2 separate regions of the Homo sapiens genome follow, and region 1 is linked to region 2. Evidence: promoter capture Hi-C in human tissues and cell types (Jung and others, 2019). All regions are on one chromosome and are shown on one strand. Each heading gives the region's core, a stretch centred on a gene start or on the middle of the fragment in contact. The rest is flanking DNA. Distances are from core to core; before and after follow the strand shown.

Evidence for each region. The method cuts DNA at HindIII sites, captures the fragments that hold promoters and counts their contacts. A contact is called where the count stands out against the background at its distance.
Region 1: a fragment that was not itself captured here is called in contact with the fragment with the promoter of STAP2 in region 2 in 2 of the 25 tissues and cell types used here (dorsolateral prefrontal cortex and lymphoblastoid cells).

What each region holds. Positions count from the first base shown.
Region 1 is chr19:4,447,983-4,451,256 of GRCh38, forward strand. It overlaps UBXN6 (UBX domain protein 6), which reads right to left. Exons shown (of 11, transcript NM_025241.3): 5 at 336-433. It also overlaps a transcript of CHAF1A not described here. Among named protein-coding and RNA genes, the nearest start is that of MIR4746, 3.6 kb to the left of the region's middle. The HindIII fragment of the contact is 5,827 bases long and covers 1-3,274 here.
Region 2 is chr19:4,336,951-4,340,103 of GRCh38, forward strand. STAP2 (signal transducing adaptor family member 2) reads right to left here and starts at 1,877. Exons shown (of 13, transcript NM_001013841.2): 1 at 1,702-1,877. The coding sequence starts at 1,803. The HindIII fragment of the contact is 19,957 bases long and covers 1-3,153 here.

The DNA.
Region 1 (3,274 bases), core at 596-3,095, 110 kb after region 2:
TTGGCGGGCAGCGTGGACCTCCAGGCCTGCCCCCGATCCTGAGACCCGGGGAGTGGGGTGGGACCCTGCCTCCTCCACATGTTCCCCAAGGAAGCCAGGGTGGGAAACCCCTGATTCCTTCAACACCTTCATTTTGCACACGGGTAAACTGAGGCCCAAGGAGGCCCAGCCCTTTGCCTGAGGCCTCTGGGTGGAGCTGCCTCACTCTCGGCCTATGCTCCTTCCCAACCCACCTCAGCAGGTAATGAGGGGGCCAGAGGGGGTGACAGCCCCAGTGGGAGGGGTGCTGGGATGAGCTGGAGGGGCCAGGCAGGGCAAAGGGGCCACACGCTCACTTGGCAATGGTGTCCACACCCAGCTTCACCCGGTCCTGGTCTTTGTTGAACGTGTAGATCTTCATGATGGAGGCGGCCACTGGGTCGGTGGAGAAGTGCTGGGAGGAGGGAAGCAGGGAAAGCCACTCACTGAGAGCCCGGGCCGCACGGCCCTCCGCTGCCCAGGTAACAGGGGCAGGAAAAGGAAGGCAGAACAGCGGCTTGGAGCGGCCCCAGCTGTGCGCTCATCACAGAAAGGAAAAGAGAGACCCTCCAAGACCGCAGCCCTGCCCACGCCCCAGGGCAGAGGCGACGCAGCCAAGACCCAGCAGAACTCAAGTCTCCCCTTCCGCCTTCTCAAGGCTAGATCCATGGGACTTGGAAGCCAGTGTGACGCGACAGAACTGTGCCTCACACTCTGGCTTTAGAACTCGACCTCAGTGCTGAGATCCATCAAGGCCACCGCCACTTACAGAACCTCCCGCCACCATGGACGCCCCATCCCTCCTGCTCTCGCAGCCCCATGATGGACGTTCTGGAACCACTCCCGGGCCTCATGTTTACAAAGAGACCGAGAGGCCCATCGTCCAGGGTCACAGGGATGGCAGGTGGCAGAGAGGACACAAATGAGTCTGCAACCCTCAATGTCTGAAACTCAATAGCTGGAAGACGGATACCCCCAGCCCCTGCCCCTCCCCGAGGTCCCACCTATCCACCTATGTTACCGGGGGAGGGGAGAAGTCATAGCTGGAACTCTGGGGGTTTCCCAGAACCAGCCCTGCTGACTGCGAACAGCGTCCCAGCATGGAGAGGCTGAGAACAGTACGTACCCTAAGACCTGGAAAAGATTGGGGCACAAATCCACGCTCGGCACAGCCATCACACACGGCCACACCCAGAGAGCCACCCATGGCCTGGGAAGCAGGGCTGCCACCCGCACCTCCCTGGGCTGCCCAGACGAGGGCGGGTGAACAGAAGGGCAGCCCAGGGCCATGTGTCAGGATTCGGGCCACCTGCCCAGGCAGCCCAGAGCTCCACCCACCACCCCCCACCCTCAACTGCACAGCAGGGTCCCTCAGCAGCCCCCTGCGTCACACGGACCAATGACCTACACACTGAGCCGGGGCTCATGCCAACTGAAAATTGGGACCCGGCCCAGTCTGCCGGTTTAGTTGCTGAGATGATGTGGGGAGCGGGACAGAGCACGTGGATGCAGAGAGGCAGAGCTGCCAGATGGGCATGTCCCCAAGACAACAGCTTCCTTGGGATCAGAGCGCCCGGGACAGCACACCAGCCAAGGGAAGCGTGTCAGCTCCAAAAGCGGGCCTCGGGCGTTTTGGGCGACTGGCTGCCAGGCTTAGGTCAGGAGCTGGGTACATGCACAGACAAGGGACGAAGGAACAGCAGCCAGGAAGGGGTCCAAATCCATACAGGAATGTACTTTGTGAGAAAGGTGGGATTTCACAGCTGTAAGCAAAAGACAGGTGCTCTCGACAGGTGGGGCTGAGAAGAAAGCTGAGCCAAGATCTAAAAAAAAAATTACATCAGCTCCATCCCACCATGTTACATAATAACATGCTCCAGCTGGATCAAAGCTTCAACCATGGAAACAAGCAAGCAGTCAAGGAGAAGCCAGAAGAAAAGCTCTGGAGGCCGGGCACGGTGGCTCATGCCTGGAATCCCAGCACTTTGGGAGGCCGAGGCGGTCGGATCACGAGATTAGGAGAGCGAGACCATCCCGGCCAACATGGTGAAACCTCATCTCTAAAATACAAAAGTTAGCCCGGGTGTGGTGGCGTGCACCTGTAGTCCCAGCTACTTGGGAGGCTGAGGCAGGTGAATTGCTTGAACCCGGGAAGCAGAGGTTGCAGTGAGCTGAGATTGCACCACTGCACTCCAGCCTGGTGACAGCAAGACTCTGTCTCAAAAAAAAAAAAAAAAAAAGCACTGGAGAGGCCACAAAAGAATTCTCTCAGCATGGAAATGGGGAAGGCATTTCTAAGAATGACCCCAAACCCAAAAGCCATGAACTAAAACTGACACATTTAATTATACAGAGATCAAAAAATCCTACACAGCAAAGTGACCATAAGCAGAGCCAACATAGAAGCAACTAGAGGGAAACATGTGCAACTCATATCATAGGCAAAAGCCTAAATTGCCTAATATGTAAAGAGTGCTGCCGGGCACGGTGGCTCCCGCCTGTAATCCCAGCACTTTGGGAGGCCGAGGCGGGCGGATCACGAGGTCAGGAGATCGAGACCATCCTGGCTAACATGGTGAAACCCCGTCTCTACTAAAAATACAAAGAATCAGCTGGGCGTGGTGGCGGTTCGCCTGTGGTCCCAGCTACTCGGGAGGCTGAGGCAGGAGAATGGTGTGAACCTCGTAGGCGGAGCTTGCAGTGAGCAGAGATGGCGCCACTGCACTCCAGCCTGGGCGACAGAGCGAGACTCTGTCTCAAAAAAAAAAAAAAAAAAAAAAAAAAAAGAGTGCCTACAAATCACTAATAAAAAGACAAACTATCTACTAAATAATGTAGAAAGGACGCATTCTCATATGAAACATGGCCAATCCAAAATAAGGAAAGTGCAAATTAACTCTATCCTGAGATGTTATTTTCACCTACCAACAGGCGTAAAGATCAAAGTTTGGTGATTTACAGTATGGTGAGAGGATGGGGACACGGGTGCTTTTGCACACACTGCTGGAGTGGGTGTGAGTCTGGAGAGTCTATGGAACTATTACTATTTTGTTTTGTTTTGTTTTTAAGATGAAGTTTCGCTCTTGTCACCCAGTGTCCACGCTGGAGCTCAATGGCGTGATCTGGGCTCACTGCAACCTCCACCTCCCAGGTTCAAGCGATTCTCCTGCCTCAGTCTCCTGAGTAGCTGGGATTACAGGCGCCTGTCACCACGCCTGGCTAATTTTTGTATATTTAGTAGATAGGGGGTTTCACT
Region 2 (3,153 bases), core at 627-3,126:
TAACTGCAGTGATCTACTGGCTCTAAAGGGTTTGTTGGTTGGGGAGGATTTGGATGTATGGAGGTAGAAGGAAAGTCTACTCCACTACAGGTAAGGGAACCTCAGGGGCAGAGGCGGGGACATGGGCAGGGAGGAGCTGGGGGTGTTTGTTTTGATCTGTATTAGAAAATGAGGCAGTCATGGTGGCTCACACCTCTAATCCCAGCAGTTTGGGAGGCTGAGACAGGAGGATCACTTAAGGCCAGGAGTTTGAGACCAGCCTGGGCAACATAGCAAGACCCCATCTTTTTTTTTTTTTTGAGACGGAGTCTTGCTCTGTTGCCCAGGCTGGAGTGCAGTGGCACGATCTTGGCTCACTGCAACCTCTGCCTCCCAGGTTCAAGTGATTCTCCTGCCTCAGCCTCCAGAGTAGCTGGGATCACAGGCACGCACCACCACGCCCGGCTAATCTTTGTATTTTTAGTAGAGACGGGGTTTCACCATATTGGCCAGGCTGGTCTCAAACTCCTGACTTCAGGTGATCCACCTGCCTCAGCCTCCCTAAGTGCTGGGATTACAGGTGTGACCCACTGCGCCTGGCCAGCAAGACCCCATCTTCAAAAAAAAAAAAAAAAGGCTGGGTGCGGTGGCTCATGCCTGTAATCCCAGCATTTAGAGAGGCCGAGACAGGTGGATCACCTGAGGTCAAGAGTTCAAGACCAGCCGGGCCAACAAAATGAAACACTGTCTTTACTAAAAATACAAAAATTAGGTGTGGTGGTGCGTACCTGTAATCCCAGCTACTCGGGAGGCTGAGGCACGAGAATCGCTTAATCGTTTGAACCTGGGAGGTGGAGGTTGCAGTGAGCCGAGATGGTGCCACTGCACTGCAGCCTGGGTGACAGAGTGAGACTCAGTCTCAAAAATAAATAAATAAAATAAAAGCCAGAAGAGGCAGTGCATGCCTGTGGTCCCAGCTACTCAGGAGGCTGGGGCGGGAGGTTCACTTGAGCCCAGGAGTTTGAGGCTACAGTGAGCCATGATCGTGCCCCTGCACTCTAGCCTGGGTGACAGAGCAACTCTGTCTCTAACAAAAAGAAAGAAAGAAAATGAATATGCGGCATTGGGAAGGAGAGATAGGGCCTCACGGGGAACGGAGGGGCTGGGACTTTATTCTGAGGGAGACATAAGCACACACACACACACACATGCACGCACTGTCCATGGCAACTATCTGTCCTGTGGAATGTGGCCCCCGCTAGCTCTTACTGTCCTCACATGTCACCTGTCCTGGCCTTCGCCCCAGCAGCTGAGGTTCACGGAGTTTTTCCTGGGCTGGGAGCGGGAGGAAGCTCGGGAGTCAGAGGACTCCCCATTTCCTGGAGGAAGTCCCTGATCTTGTTTGTATTCAAGAGAGTGAACGAGAGACAAAAGCAAAGATTGAGACAAAGAGAGAGGGAGACTGAGACAGACATCGGGAGAGACAGACGGGGCCAGGGAGAGAGAAAGAGAAAAAGAAACCAAATTCAAAGACACACGGAGACAGAGATAGACGCACAGAGAGGCAGATGGCCAGAACCCACCCCAGTCCCCCAGCACGTGTCCTGCCCCATCCAGCACCCACCCCGCCCCCCCTTGGCGAGTGGGGAGACAGGGACTCAGAGAGGTGCCGCAGCTCCCCACGGTGGCCCAGCAGGGCCAGCCCCCGCCTCCCCACCTTACCCGGTCACAGGGCCCCTTCTTCTCTAGAAAGCTCTCATAGTAGTGTGAAGGCAGGACACCCTTAGGCTTGGGGACACGGGGTGGCCTCAGGGCAGAGGCCATGACGGAGCCAGGGTCTTCCGCCTGGCCTCTCCTTCCAGTGGGTGCCCCAGCTGGGCCGGGAAGCTGAGAAACAGGTTTCAGGGGAGTTTCCTGTGTCAGCCCGTCAACTCCCTCCCCTGCCAGGGCTGGGCAGAGGCTGATCCCAGCAGGTCCAGTGATCCTAGGGAAATCCCCGCCTCTCCGGTGTGGAACTGAGAACAGAGAGAATGTATAAGTCTACTTGAATGGGAGAATAATCTTCGCTATATCTGCAAAGACAGAGACATGGTCTGTCTCTTTATTTATTTATTTATCTATTTTTCCTATTTTGAGACAGAGTTTCACTCTGTTGCCCAGGCTGGAGTAAAGTGGTATGATCTTGGCTCACTGCGACCTCTGCCTCCCGGGTTCAAGAGACTGCGCTGCCTCCCGGGTTCAGAGACTGAGTCCAAGCTCAGTCTCCTGACTAGCGTGGATTGCAGGTGACCGCCACCACGCCTGGCTAATTTTTGTATTTGTAGTAGAGACGAGGTTTCCCCATGTTGGCCCAGGCTGGTCTCGAACTCCTGACCCCAAGTTTTCTGCCCGCCTCAGCCTCCCAAAGTGCTGAGATTACAGGCATGAGCCACCACACCTGGCCCTTTCTCTTACTTTGATGGACCCTAATGATTACATTGGGCCCACCTGGATAATCCACGCTACTCTCCCTATTTTAAAGTCAGCTGACTAGCAACTTTAATTTCATCTGCAATTTTTCTTTTTTAGACGGTGTCTCATTCTGTTGTCGATGCTGGAGTGCAGTGGCACGATCATAGTTCACTGCAGCCCTGACCTCCCAATCTCAAGCGGTCCTCCTGCCTCAGCCACCCGAAGAGCTGGGACTATAGGTGGGCACCACCACACCCAGCTAATTTATTTTCCTTTTTTAAGGATGAGTTCTCACTATGTTGCCTAGGCTGGAGTACAGTGGGGCGATCATGACTCACTGTAGCCTCGACCTTACAGGCTCAAGTGATCCTCCAGCCTCAGCCTCCAGAGTAGGTGGTACTACAGTTGCATGCCACCACACCTGGCTAATTTTTTTTTTTCTTTTTTTTGAGACAGACTCTCGCTCTGTAGCCCAGGCTGGAGTGCAGTGGCGTGATCTCGGCTCACTGCAAGCTCCGCCTCCCAGGTTCATGCCATTCGCCTGGCTCAGCCTCCCAAGTAGCTGGGATTACAGGTGCCTGCCACCACGCCCAGCTAATTTTTACACTTACTAGAGACAGGTTCTTGCTATGTTGCCCAGGCTGGTCTTTTTTTTTTTTTTTTTTTGAGACAGAGTCTTACTCTGTCACCCAGGCTGGAGTGCAGTGGAGCGATCTCGGCTTA